2 separate regions of the Homo sapiens genome follow, and region 1 is linked to region 2. Evidence: promoter capture Hi-C in human tissues and cell types (Jung and others, 2019). All regions are on one chromosome and are shown on one strand. Each heading gives the region's core, a stretch centred on a gene start or on the middle of the fragment in contact. The rest is flanking DNA. Distances are from core to core; before and after follow the strand shown. Region 1 overlaps DTD1 (D-aminoacyl-tRNA deacylase 1). Region 2 holds the start of SLC24A3 (solute carrier family 24 member 3).

The links. Contacts are between HindIII fragments. The study calls those that stand out against the background at their distance.
Region 1: a contact is called between a fragment that was not itself captured here and the fragment with the promoter of SLC24A3 in region 2, in 1 of the 25 tissues and cell types used here (IMR-90 fibroblasts).

What each region holds. Positions count from the first base shown.
Region 1 is chr20:18,613,330-18,619,121 of GRCh38, forward strand. The region is part of intron 3 of DTD1 (D-aminoacyl-tRNA deacylase 1); the gene reads left to right. Among named protein-coding and RNA genes, the nearest start is that of DTD1, 28 kb to the left of the region's middle. The HindIII fragment of the contact is 7,223 bases long and covers 1-5,792 here.
Region 2 is chr20:19,209,916-19,215,698 of GRCh38, forward strand. SLC24A3 (solute carrier family 24 member 3) reads left to right here and starts at 2,727. Exons shown (of 17, transcript NM_020689.4): 1 at 2,727-3,069. The coding sequence starts at 2,928. It overlaps LOC101929547 (a long non-coding RNA gene), which reads right to left and starts at 2,553. Exons shown (of 3, transcript XR_007067549.1): 1 at 1,714-2,553; 2 at 149-526; 3 at 1-54. RefSeq lists a silencer at 3,078-3,127. The HindIII fragment of the contact is 12,474 bases long and covers 1-5,783 here.

The sequences.
Region 1 (5,792 bases), core at 986-3,485, 600 kb before region 2:
TTCTGCCACAGCGTGGTAACATTCCTCAGAAACCTCCTGCTCTGCGAAACTGTTGCTAAAACTCTCAGGGCTTATGGGAAAAATGGAGTTAATAGCAGAACACCAAAGTCCTGTGGCTGGGTTGGAAGGCAGTAGGCACTTGTTTTTTATTTTCATAAGATACTTTTAGGGGCTTCTGCTGCCAGTGCTGAGGGCTTTTCTGCTGAAGGCTGTCATTTTATTCCCACTAGTCTGGCTCTCCTTGTCTGAGAAAACCCACCTCTGCTGAGATACAGCCTCTGTGGTATATGCACTTTCATTTACCAGTTGTATATGAGCGATTCTCCTTTCAGAAACAAGTGTCATCAGAACCTTCTGAGGTGACTGGTGTGATGCATACTTTGAGGGAGTGTTAGGGATGAATAACAGGGTTAGTTGCTAAGGTGGTGGCTGCACATGTGCTTGGGCATGATTTTGTCTGAGCTGTGTTTAGGTCATTTGTTGATTCTTCTTGACTCATCAAACCAATACCCATGCAGAGTGTTGTTGATCTTTATGCTTGTATGTGGGTATGTACTGTTGCCCCTCGTTGAATATTGACTGGCCACTAGGGTGCATGCTATTTAAATTGGAAACACCCCCACTGTTTTTCTTTTATATTTTACATAAAGTGTAAAAGATTGGAGACAGTTTCGCCATGTTGCCCAGGCTGGTCTCAAACTCCTGGGCTCAAGTGGTCTGCCCGCCTTGGCCTCCCAAAGTGCTGGGATACAGGTGTGAGCCACTGCACCCAGCCTATTTTTCTTTTAAAAACTCTCTGAGCCTCTTCTTCTATTGTAATGACCTGGGGCACTGGACAGACCAGCCTCAGAGCAGAGATCAGGTTTTCCCAGCATGCTCCTGCTCAAGCACTGAGCATCCCACATCCCTAGAAACCCCTAAGTCCTGGGCAAACTAGGATGGCTGGCCACCCTAAGAAGCAGCCCTGTGGCAGTGCAGTTCTCGGGAAAACTTGGGCCAGGTGATATCCTGAATGCATTGTGTAAAAATGCACTCCTCTTTGCATAGGAGACAAGGTAGGGCTAGGATGAACATCGGGGCAGGAGGATTAGCTGTCTGCTTCGGCTGGAGAAATGACAGAGTTCACGGCCAGGTCCCCAGTAAAGCCGCTGGAGTATCCAGCTCTAGGCAGGTGTGTGACTGGCCTGAGCAGGTTCAAGAGGTTCAGGGACAGACTTGGATGGAGGAGTGGAAGAGAGACCACATTGCTGAAAAACACTGTTGGCAATCTGGCAACTTGGTCATCTGGTGCACTGGCTGACTTCTATGTTTGTTAGCGGCAAAGACAGCCGGGAGAGAGATTTAAGCTGAGATGAGAAGGATGAGAGAAGCTGCAGGCTGTAGTATCAGGAAGGGTTTTTTGTGTGGGCCCATTTAGAGGCACTTCCTGTGTCCCAGCAAGCTCCCTAGGCTTGCACACATTTTCCCTTCTCCCTCCCTCTCTCCCTTCCTCCTTCCCTTCCTCCTGCTCACTCTTTCTTCCACTCTCCTTCAATCCCTTCCTTCCTTCCTTTCTTCCTTCTAAAACGGCCGCAGTGTACCCTCTTCCCCTTTCTGCTCTCCTCCCCCTACTCCTCCCAACTTCTCATCCTTGGCCTCCCCACGTTGCTGGGCTCCTCCCAACCTGGTGGTCTCAGGGCAGTTGGCTTCATAACATGGTGCTGGCTTCCTCCACAGTGAGCATTGCAAGAGCAGGCATTCCAAGATGGGAATAGATGTGCTGATCCCTTCAGACCAGGCCTGGAAAGTGGCACAGCCTCACTTCTGTCATATAATGTTGGTCAAAGCAGTCTCACAGCCTACCCCGATTCAAGGGGAGGAGATACAGTCCCACGCTGTAATGACAGGAGTGTCAAAGAGTTTGAAGCCATCTCTAGTCTTCCACAGCTCATAACCCTGCTGCTCTCAAAGGGTAGAACTTTCCTCATTTCATGGCTGTTTCTCGAATCATTGCTTTAGGGGAAAAACTAGTGAATAGTCCTGTCATATTTTCCCCTCTACTGAGAATGAGCTAAACGTTGAGGGTGCATTATTGGGTCCCCAGACTGAGTAGGCACAGGAAACTGGGTCACTTGTATCCTCAACAGCCCTTCAGGGATCTCCAGCCTTCACATGAATGCTGAAGGCCCCATTTGGCAGGAGGCATTGAACGCTGTCCAAGTTGAGTGTTAAGCATGTATTGCTTTTATAGTTAGAAAAAAAACAAGTTATACCAAAATGGAATAGTGGAGAAGGGCAACCTTTGCTCTCAAGCTTCTAGTTCCAGCTCTGAGGCATTTGTAATGGGCTCAGGGAAACATTCACTAGTCAGCTTTGTTCAGCAAATCAGAAGCTGCTACAGTATTCAAAAGGATTACCTGTATATTCTCTGCTGGGTCTGATTTGTTGTGGGCATCTAAGAGCTAGAGAAATGTGGACAGACACGTCAGGAGGGCAGCAGTTTATGACCGCTTCTGCTCTGTGTACTCCATGGGACGTCCATGATGCCCGTGCCTCTCCCGCTTCATAATGCAAAGAGAAAGTGCCAGGAGCTGGAAGACCACGTCTAAGTTTTTGTTTTGTGCTTAGTACTTGATTTCTGTGGATTTGTTTAATTTTCTACTCTGTTTACTATTTAAAGCATTTTAACAGCATGAGTGAACTTTCAGTGGAAGCCTGTTCTATATACTTTGGCAAAGACTGTGATGCCAAAGGCATTATTTTTCTTGTAAATTTAGGAAATTATAATGTGGGATCGTGTCTTCATTGTTAATGAATGGCAGGGTTGGCAAACTGTGGTACAGGCTGTTGCTCTTGTGTAAAAGTTTGACACAGATGTCCAACTGATTTTGGCCAAATACATTTATATTTTCTCTCATTCTTTCCTTTTCTTTCATTCTCTTCATTAATTTGCTTACTGACTTCATTATTTATTCCTGCATGTCTCTTTTTTGGTCTTACATGTAAATCATCTTCACAGCTACAATGTAGCATACCTCTTCCCAAATGGCAAACTATATCTACTTTCGTTATTAAACCCTGTCTTTTCGTGATTTCATTGATTTGCTTAGTTGATTGTCTATTGTGAACAGCAACCTGATCTTGCCAGTTCTCCCTTCCCCTACCTAAAATAACCATGGCCACCCTAAAAGCAATGTCAGCCACCACAGTGGCTCACACCTATAATCCCAGCACTTTGGGAGGTCGAAGCAGGAGAATCACTTCAGCCCAGGAGTTCTAGACCAGCCTGGGCAGCATAGCAAGACCCCATCTCTAAAAAGAAAAGAAAAAAAGAAAAAAAAAGAAAAAATTAGCTGAGTGTGATGGTGCACGCCTATAGTCCCAGCTAATTGAGAGGCTGAGGCAGGAGGATTGCTTGGGCCCAGGAGTTCAAGGCAGCAGCAAGCTATGATCACACCACTGCACTCTAGCCCGGGTGATAGAGTAAGACCCTGTCTCTAAAAAATTTTTTTAAAAAAGCAGTGTCAGTGGTATGGTGGGGTTTTGCACTCCTGCACTAATGGCAGCATGCCTTATGCACAGTGGGTGCTTTGTGATTTTGTGCAATGAATGCCTCTGGGTCTCAGGAGATGAGGACTGGTCCATTTTGGTGGCTTTGCCATCCTTTCTATTCTTTCCATTCTCTCTGGGCTCTTTCCCCCTCCTGTCCTTATTCTCCTTCCTCACTTTTATCTCATTTCCTGAATTTCCTCCGCACTTCTGGCCATGAATTGCAGGATCAGCTCTTTCTCCTTAGCCGAGAGTCTATGATACAATTCAATTGGAAGAAATAAAGATAATTTTTAAAAGAAGATACAGGCATAGGTAGAAAGAAACTTCTGTTCAGTGTTGTTACAATCCAAGTAAGTAAGGTGACTTGGGATGAAACGAAAAGTCTGAATCATTCAGCAGGAGGAATGGGAAGAGTTCAAAACCTTATTGATTCAGGGACTACGAATTCAGAAAAAAATTATATATAATATATATAATATTAGATATATAATTTTTAATAATGTGTATATATAATATAATGTATATACATATACACACACATATATATTTGTGACCATATATATGAGGGTTTACTTCTGGACTCACAGTTCTAGTTCATTGTTCTATGTTTCTGTACTTACACAGTACCATACTGTTTTGATTACTGTAACTTTGTAGTAAGTTTTGAAATTGGGAGGTGTGAGTCCTCTAACTTTATTCTTCTAATTAATGATTGAATAGGTAGTAGGATGAGGTAGTTCAGACATCAAAATGATATGAAAAGGTCTAAACTGGAAAGGTTTGCTCTCATTCGTGTCTCTGTCCAGCCTGTTTTTCTTGCTCTCTAGAGGTAATTACTTTTATTATTTTTTTCTATCCATCTATCCATTTGCAAATGTGAGCAAATATGAATTTTAAAAATATTCCCCTTTCTATACAAAAGGTATGATGTGATGTACTGTTTTATATCTTGGCTTTAAAAAAAAATTCACAGTGTGTCCTAGAGATTCTTTTCATACCAGTTCATAGAGACTTCTTTCTTTTTTTTTCTCTTCTATTCTGAACAAATTAAATCTCTCTTTTTAAACTGCTGTGTACTGTTCTGTGGCAGGACCATAGCCTGGCTTATTTAATAGATCTTGTATTGTTGGACTCCTGGATTATTTCTAATTTATGTCTCTTAAAAACAACAGTGACATGATGAATACATTTGTACATATGCCACTTCATATGCAGTCGGGAGATACCTGTTGGAGAAATTCTCAGAAATGGGATAGACGGTGCCAGATGGCCGTTTGTAGGCACCGCACCTTTCTGCAGTGTGAGACTACCATATTTCTCCTAGCTCTGTTGGCAGAGTGTATTTTGAACTTCTAGAATTTCACCCATCTGATAGATATCCCATTGTAGTTTTAATGCACAGAGTGTGGTTGGACATTTTTTCAGATGTTTGACTGACTTATTTCCTTTTCTCTTAACTGTTTATGTGCTTTGTCCTTTTTTTGTTTTTGTTTTTTTGTTTTTTTTTGAGACAGGGTCTGGCTCTTTGTCACCCAGGCTGGACTGTAGTGGCATCATGATCATGGGTCACTGCAGCCTCAACCTCCCAGGCTAAAGCAATCCTCCCACCTCAGCCTCCTGAGTAGCTGGGGCCACAGGCATGTTCCACCATTCCCAGCTAATATAGATATAAAAATTATATATATGAACACATCTATAATACATATTAATACATATATAATACAAAAATTATATATACATACATATGTGTGTGTATATATGTATATGTATATATAATTATACACATATATGTGTATATATACATAATTTTATACACACACACACACACACACACACACACACACACACACACATATAATTTTTTTTTTTGAGATGGAGTTTTGCTCTTGTTGCCCAGGCTGGAATGTAATGGCGTCATCTTGGCTCACTGCAACCTCCACTTCCCTGGTTCAAGCAATTCTCCTGCCTCAGCCTCCCGAGTAGCTGGGATTACAGGCACCTGCCACCATGCCCAGCTAATTTTTGTATTTTTAGTAGAGATGGGGTTTCACCATGTTGGCCAGGCTCATCTCGAACTCTTGATCTCAGGTACTCCTCCTGCTTTGGCCTTCCAAAGTGCTGGGATCACAGGCGTGAGTCACCGTGCCTGGCTATTTTTATATTTTGTAGAAACAAGGTCTCACTATGTTGCCCAGGCTGGTCTCAAGTTCCTAGGCTCAAGCCGTCTTCCCACCTTAGCCTCCCAAAGTGCTGGGATTACA
Region 2 (5,783 bases), core at 1,477-3,976:
AGAAAGACTAACCAACTTTATTCACCACATCAGGTCCAAAGTCTCTGCAGGGACCTGAAAACAGAATGTTTATGGAAGGTCAAAACAGGGGGAGTAGACAGTGACCCCAGAACCCAGCCCAAGGTGGGGAGGTGCTCTGTAAAGACACCTGTCTTATTCCTGAAAGGGTGAAGACCCCCACACATCTAGGAGTGATGCCTCTCTCTCCAGGAAAGAAATACTCTCAGACTGAAGTATCAGAGCACATTCTTCATTTCAACTCTTGCTCCTTTCACAGTTCGGTTTCTGGAGGGAGCTTCCAAAGACTGAAAGGGACAGGTAGGAAAAAAAATGACTGTTTTCTTTGGAGAGGAGCTCCTGAGGCCTGTCTCACTTGGCCATCACCTGGGGGGCTGAGGAACCTATCAGGTCTCAGTTGCTGTCAGCCTAGGGACCAGGATCCCCACCTTTCTTCCCTAGGTGGTGCCTGGCCGCCCAAGGAATCACTCTCTGTGCTTTACTTTAACAGTGCCCTTCACTCCAAAATCTGTCAAAATGAATAGAAACCCAAGAATCATTTCTGTGTGCCACAGGAGTGCTCTCCCCCGGCCCCCCCGCCCCACCCCGCCACACACACACACATACACTCCTGGTGCTGAGATAATTTCCAAGAAATTACCAGTTCCTGGTTATTCTCCTTCCTCCTGGCTCCCTTCCTAACTCCCCCTCCATCACCAGATTACACAATTCCTTGAGCCTATGGTATTTTCCCCTGGAGCTTGTGTTCATTTCCTAACTCAATTAATTCCAGATTCCCTCTCTCACCTTCTATTTTCCCTCGTTTTCACTAGAAAACACTATTTGAGTGACTTTCCTGGTTAGTTGAATTCTTCTCAGCTCCTAAACTTTCTTTTCTGTGTCTGCAAAAGCTTGATGGAGATAACACAACTAGAGAATTCTCCCCACACACTCCAGCACGGATGAACTCGTATTTTTACACCCTCCTTAGTATCTGCAGCCAAAGCAAAGGGAAAACCACTCAGGCATTGTGGGGGAGGTACTCTGAGTGTCTGGAAGATGCCAGGCTGAGAACAGCAGTCATAAATGATATACCCACAAAGGAAAAGTCTCTGGTCTCCCTGGGTGAGATGGCCTTTCTCTGGAAAGGAGGCCACCTATAACCACTTCCTTTGCCCTTTGCTGTGACCTTGCTGTCCCCGGGCGCTGTCAGGGATTGTCTGGGAGGAGGTCGGGGGGGGTAGGTCAGTCACAGGTGGGGACACATTTGAACAGACCTAGACAGGGGAGCCTTATACAGAGGTTCTCTGCTTCCTTCCCACCTCCTTAGGGTATGAAGCTAGATTCCCTGATCTGAATGGATTCCATGGAGACAGTCACCTAGACAGACACCTGGTTTCAGGTGATCCCTTTCTGGACAAGGTCTTTTGTTTTCAGCGCCCCCCCACCCTCCGCCCCAACAATGGCATCTCCTCCTCAGCCCAGCCAGCAGCCCCAGGCTAGCATCTGGGAAGAGTCCAGGGAAGCCCAATGAGGGAGAGTGGGCTGTGTCTGGGATGGCCAGGGATCCCCTCCAAATGGGCACCTGCGGCAGGTCGTGAGTCCAGCCATCTCTAGGGCAGCCCACACCTTCAGCAAGGAGGGGCAGGAGACCTAGAATGGGGGAAATGGGAGGACTAAGATTCTAACGTTGGAGGTAGGGCAGGCTGGTGTTACCTGCACAAGGCCAGAAGCCTCTTCAGGCCGCCTCTCCAGGGACCGTGCCAGCTGTCCCCACTTCGATCAGCCACAGTATTGGACTTGGTCCAGCACGAACAGAAAGCGAAGTGTGAGCCCAAGACAGAGGGGGGAGCCGGACACCCTTATGGAACTAACAGCCTCTGGGGAGGCCTGTTCCAGATCCCGAGTCGGGCGCACAGGGGGATCCCCGCAAGGGGGCAGAGGGAAACCCGGGAGGCCCGCGAGAAGAGGCGAGGCCAGAGGCTGGGCGCGGGCAGCCAAGCGCACTCGCGGCGCCCCGACTCCAGGTAGCACGTAGAGAGGAGGCTGAAGAGCCCCTCGGTTTTCCGAAAGTTTCCAGCGAATCCTTCTTGGTGAAGATCGGCCTCTGGGAGGCAGCGTGTGTGCTTCCCGAGAGGGGGCCCCCTGCGCCGTCCCTCTTCCCCTGGCACAGAAGGGTTGAAGGACTGCACACAGGGATCCCTCCCCAGCCCAGTCTCCTCCCAGCGCGCCCCCTCCCCGCCATGCCGGCCAGCGCCGGGCTGTGTCCCAGGCACTGCCCCCCGCCAACCCTGGCCCGACCAGCCTCGCCGCTGCAGGCTGCCGGGAGCTGCGCTAGCTCATGCTCCCAGCTCGCTCGGTGCTCCCTGTTCGCTCCGGCCCGGCCCCGGCCCCCATCGCGCCGACCATGGAATAGGCGGGCGGCCCCGCGAGGCGCTCCTGCAGCCGGCGAGGCCAGAGCCAGTCCGGGGTGGCTTTGCCAACCGGCGGAGTTGGCCAGCGGCGGGCCCTCCTACCGTCGGTCCTTCCCCGCTCCTCCTCCTCTGCCCCCTCCGCCCCCGCCTCCCGGCCGCCCCCGCCGCCCCCGCCGCGCCGCCGCCCCAGGCCGAGCGCGGGCGCGGAGCGTGGGAGCCATGGCGCGCGAGGAGGAGCGGGACCCCGAGCGCCGGGAGGCGGCGGCGCGGGCGAGCGGCGAGGAGGAGGAGGAGGGAGGGGAGGAGGGACTGGGCGATAGCGACGAGGAGGGCGACGACGAGGAGACGGGCAGCGGCGAGGAGGAGGAAGAGGAGGCGGAGGCGGCGGCCGGGTGGGAGCGCAGCGAGGACGCGCGGCTGCTGCGCGCAGGGCTGCCTCCTGCCGCTGTCCCCGCCGCGGCCGCCCGCGACAGGAGCGGCCGCCGCCCGCCGAGGCCGCCGCCCGGCCGCCCGAGGATGCGGCCGTCCGGCGACGAGGACCGCGCGCGTCGCCGCCGCCGCCGCCGCCGCCGGAGGGACCTTCTGCTGAGCCAGCTCTGCTTCCTGGCCTCGGTGGCGCTGCTGCTCTGGTCGCTGTCGAGCCTGCGAGAGCAGAAGGGTGAGTGCACGCTGCCTGCCCCGAGTGGGCGCTGCGGCTCCGGCGGCTCGGGGCTCCCGGGGCTGGGCGCGGGGCTCCTTCGGGCGGCCCGGCCGGAGCCCCAGGATAAGCGGGCTGGGTTGGCGGGGGGAGTGGGATGCCAGGCACGAGGACTCCCCCTGCCCCACGCAGAGGCATGGAGGTGGGGACCCTGAGCGCCAGCAGCCAGCAGGCTTAGGCGTCTGGCCGCCCTGGGAACATTTACCTGTGCCCGCCTGTGCGCTGCTTACTCGCGAGCTGGAGGTACTGCTGGTGGCGGTGGTGGGGAGTCTTACTCTCCATCAGCCCCCAAGGCCAGGGATAAAGTTGTGGTGGTAGACCCGGCACCTGTGCAGGTGACCACCTGTATACTCCTTGGCTTGCTGAAGGATTCAAGGGGACTGCTTAACACACAGTTGTCCGTATGTTCTCCATCCAGAGAGCAGGCGGGATGGCCCGAGTAGAGAGCTCTTCAACCCCCTTTCAGAACAGGTGCCGGGAACTTCAGGGAGAGAAAAAGTGTTGGCCCTCCAGCTATGGGCTAGTAGGGGACTTGTTCTCCTAAAATGACCACTCACTGGGAAGACAGGGAATTCTTCCTCAGAGGTCCCTTTTGCAGAGCTGCTGCTGTGGAAGAAATGGTTTGCAGTGGACCACGCATCACACTGTCCGCTCCTCTACCGGTGCTCTGCGCAAAGTCTGCCCTTTAACCCACAACTTTTGTCTTGTCTTTGTCCTTGGCCTTTCTTGAGCTGAAATAGATCTTGTGTGCTCCCAACAGTTGTCTGCTGAAACAGCTTCGATCCTGGGATTCAGCTGTCTATAAAATGAAGGAAAAACATGGGAGAATAACTGTTGTAAAATGGTTTTATATCCCGGCCGTGGAAGTGGCACGATTAGTGGGAAAACAGCCATGTAAAGGGTTGTGAGAAAGAAACAAAACAAAACAAAACAAACAAACAAAAAAACAGTTACAAGTATGTGCTGTGGTGTTGAGGTCGACGTAGCTCTAATGCAAGATGTCATGAGGTGCAGAATAAAGACATTTTGATAGTCACCGTAAAATATTTTCAAAGGTGCCATGAATTTAAAAAGGGATCTCCCCCAGCTTGGCTGGTCTCCTGCTTGGTGGGGAAGTGAAACAGGCGTCAGTCTTCATTCAGTCTTAGCAGACCGCTTGACAGACTTCATCATTTATGGTAATAGCAGAGAGTCCGTCTTGGTCTTCAGTGAAGCTGTTCAAGACTCCACGGCTCTCTCCATTGCTCTCCTGGATCTCAGATCCCGTAGCCTTGGGTTCTGACATCAGGAAGGGGGCCGTGCCGGTGTGAGGGAAGCAGAATCTCTCCCAGGGCAGATTCACATCTGCCAGACTTCTGTCTACTGACAGTCTCACTAAGGGGGTTTTCCCGAATCCCATTTTTATTTTCCTTTTTTATTTTTCTCCAGTGAAAAACCAGTTTATAGTTCATGCCACCTTTGGAAAGGGCTATTCCTAGTGGATTACACGCTGGCCATTTTTTTCTGGTATGTTGGGGCTCTATGAGACATAGAGTTCCCACCACTTTCAAGAATATAAAAGACATTTTTTTCTGGGTGAAGGATGTGACTCATATAGTTAAGTCAATCAGTGACAGGGGGCTGCCTGGGCCCTGAAAAGCTGGGATTTGGGAGGAGAGGAGGCCAGACACTCTGCAAACTTGAAACCTGGGGACTGGAATGTCATTTTGGAATGGTTTCCCTGGTAGTGACATTTCTATTCAGGTGCCACTGACTCAGATTTAGTTCCATAGCACGGCCTTTTCCGCATCCCTCCCTCTGTCCTACCTTTCTCCTTCCTACCTTTCATATTCTTTTTTCCTCTCACTTCCTCTTCCTCCCTTCTCATCTCTGTTGGTCTTAGGACCCCTCCACACCCCAGTAACTGAAGATCTAACAGGCAAAAGCCAAATGTTAAGGAGGATGCCAGCCAGCCTCCCTGTGTTGCCCCCGAATGACATATGAGTTGAAATGGTCTCCAATCACTTTTTTTTCCGTTAGGTATTGATGATTTTGGTATGTGATGCACAGTAGTATTTTGCAGCAAGACACAGGTTTTTCTAGATAATTTTTAACATATTAATTAATGTGTGTGAATCTGCAAATGATAATTTTGCAAGGGGAATTGTCGTTTGGCACACGTAAGCATTTGAATGGTGACTTTTACCCTGGAAACTTGGAGCACACACTACCTAGTGGTCCTTTGGTACAGATACTGAAGTTTGGAATGGAGCATTGTTTCGAAGACCTTGTGGTGTAGAGAGGCTGAGTGATTAGCTTAAAGTCACACAGCATTCGAAGAGTAGAGGAAAAAACCAACCTGAGGTAACCTGGTTTTTTGTTCCCTACTCTGTCCTCATATTCAAACCACCATTTGGGTGTAGCTTTGTAATATTTATATAATCTCATAGGGGGTACCTTCATAATGATCAAAGGTAATATTTTCATTTAGTCACCTTGAAAGCCATGCAGTGATTGTTAAATGTAACTTCTCAGAAGCTCGTTTTCTAACACATATTGACCTTTCCCTCCCTCCTTCCTTCTGTTGGCCCTTCCTCCCTCTCTCCTTCCTTCATTCTTTCTTCCTTCCTGCTCCCTTCCTTTCTCTCTTCTTTCCTCTTAAAATGACAGTTCTTTTACCAAAGCAAAATAGAGAT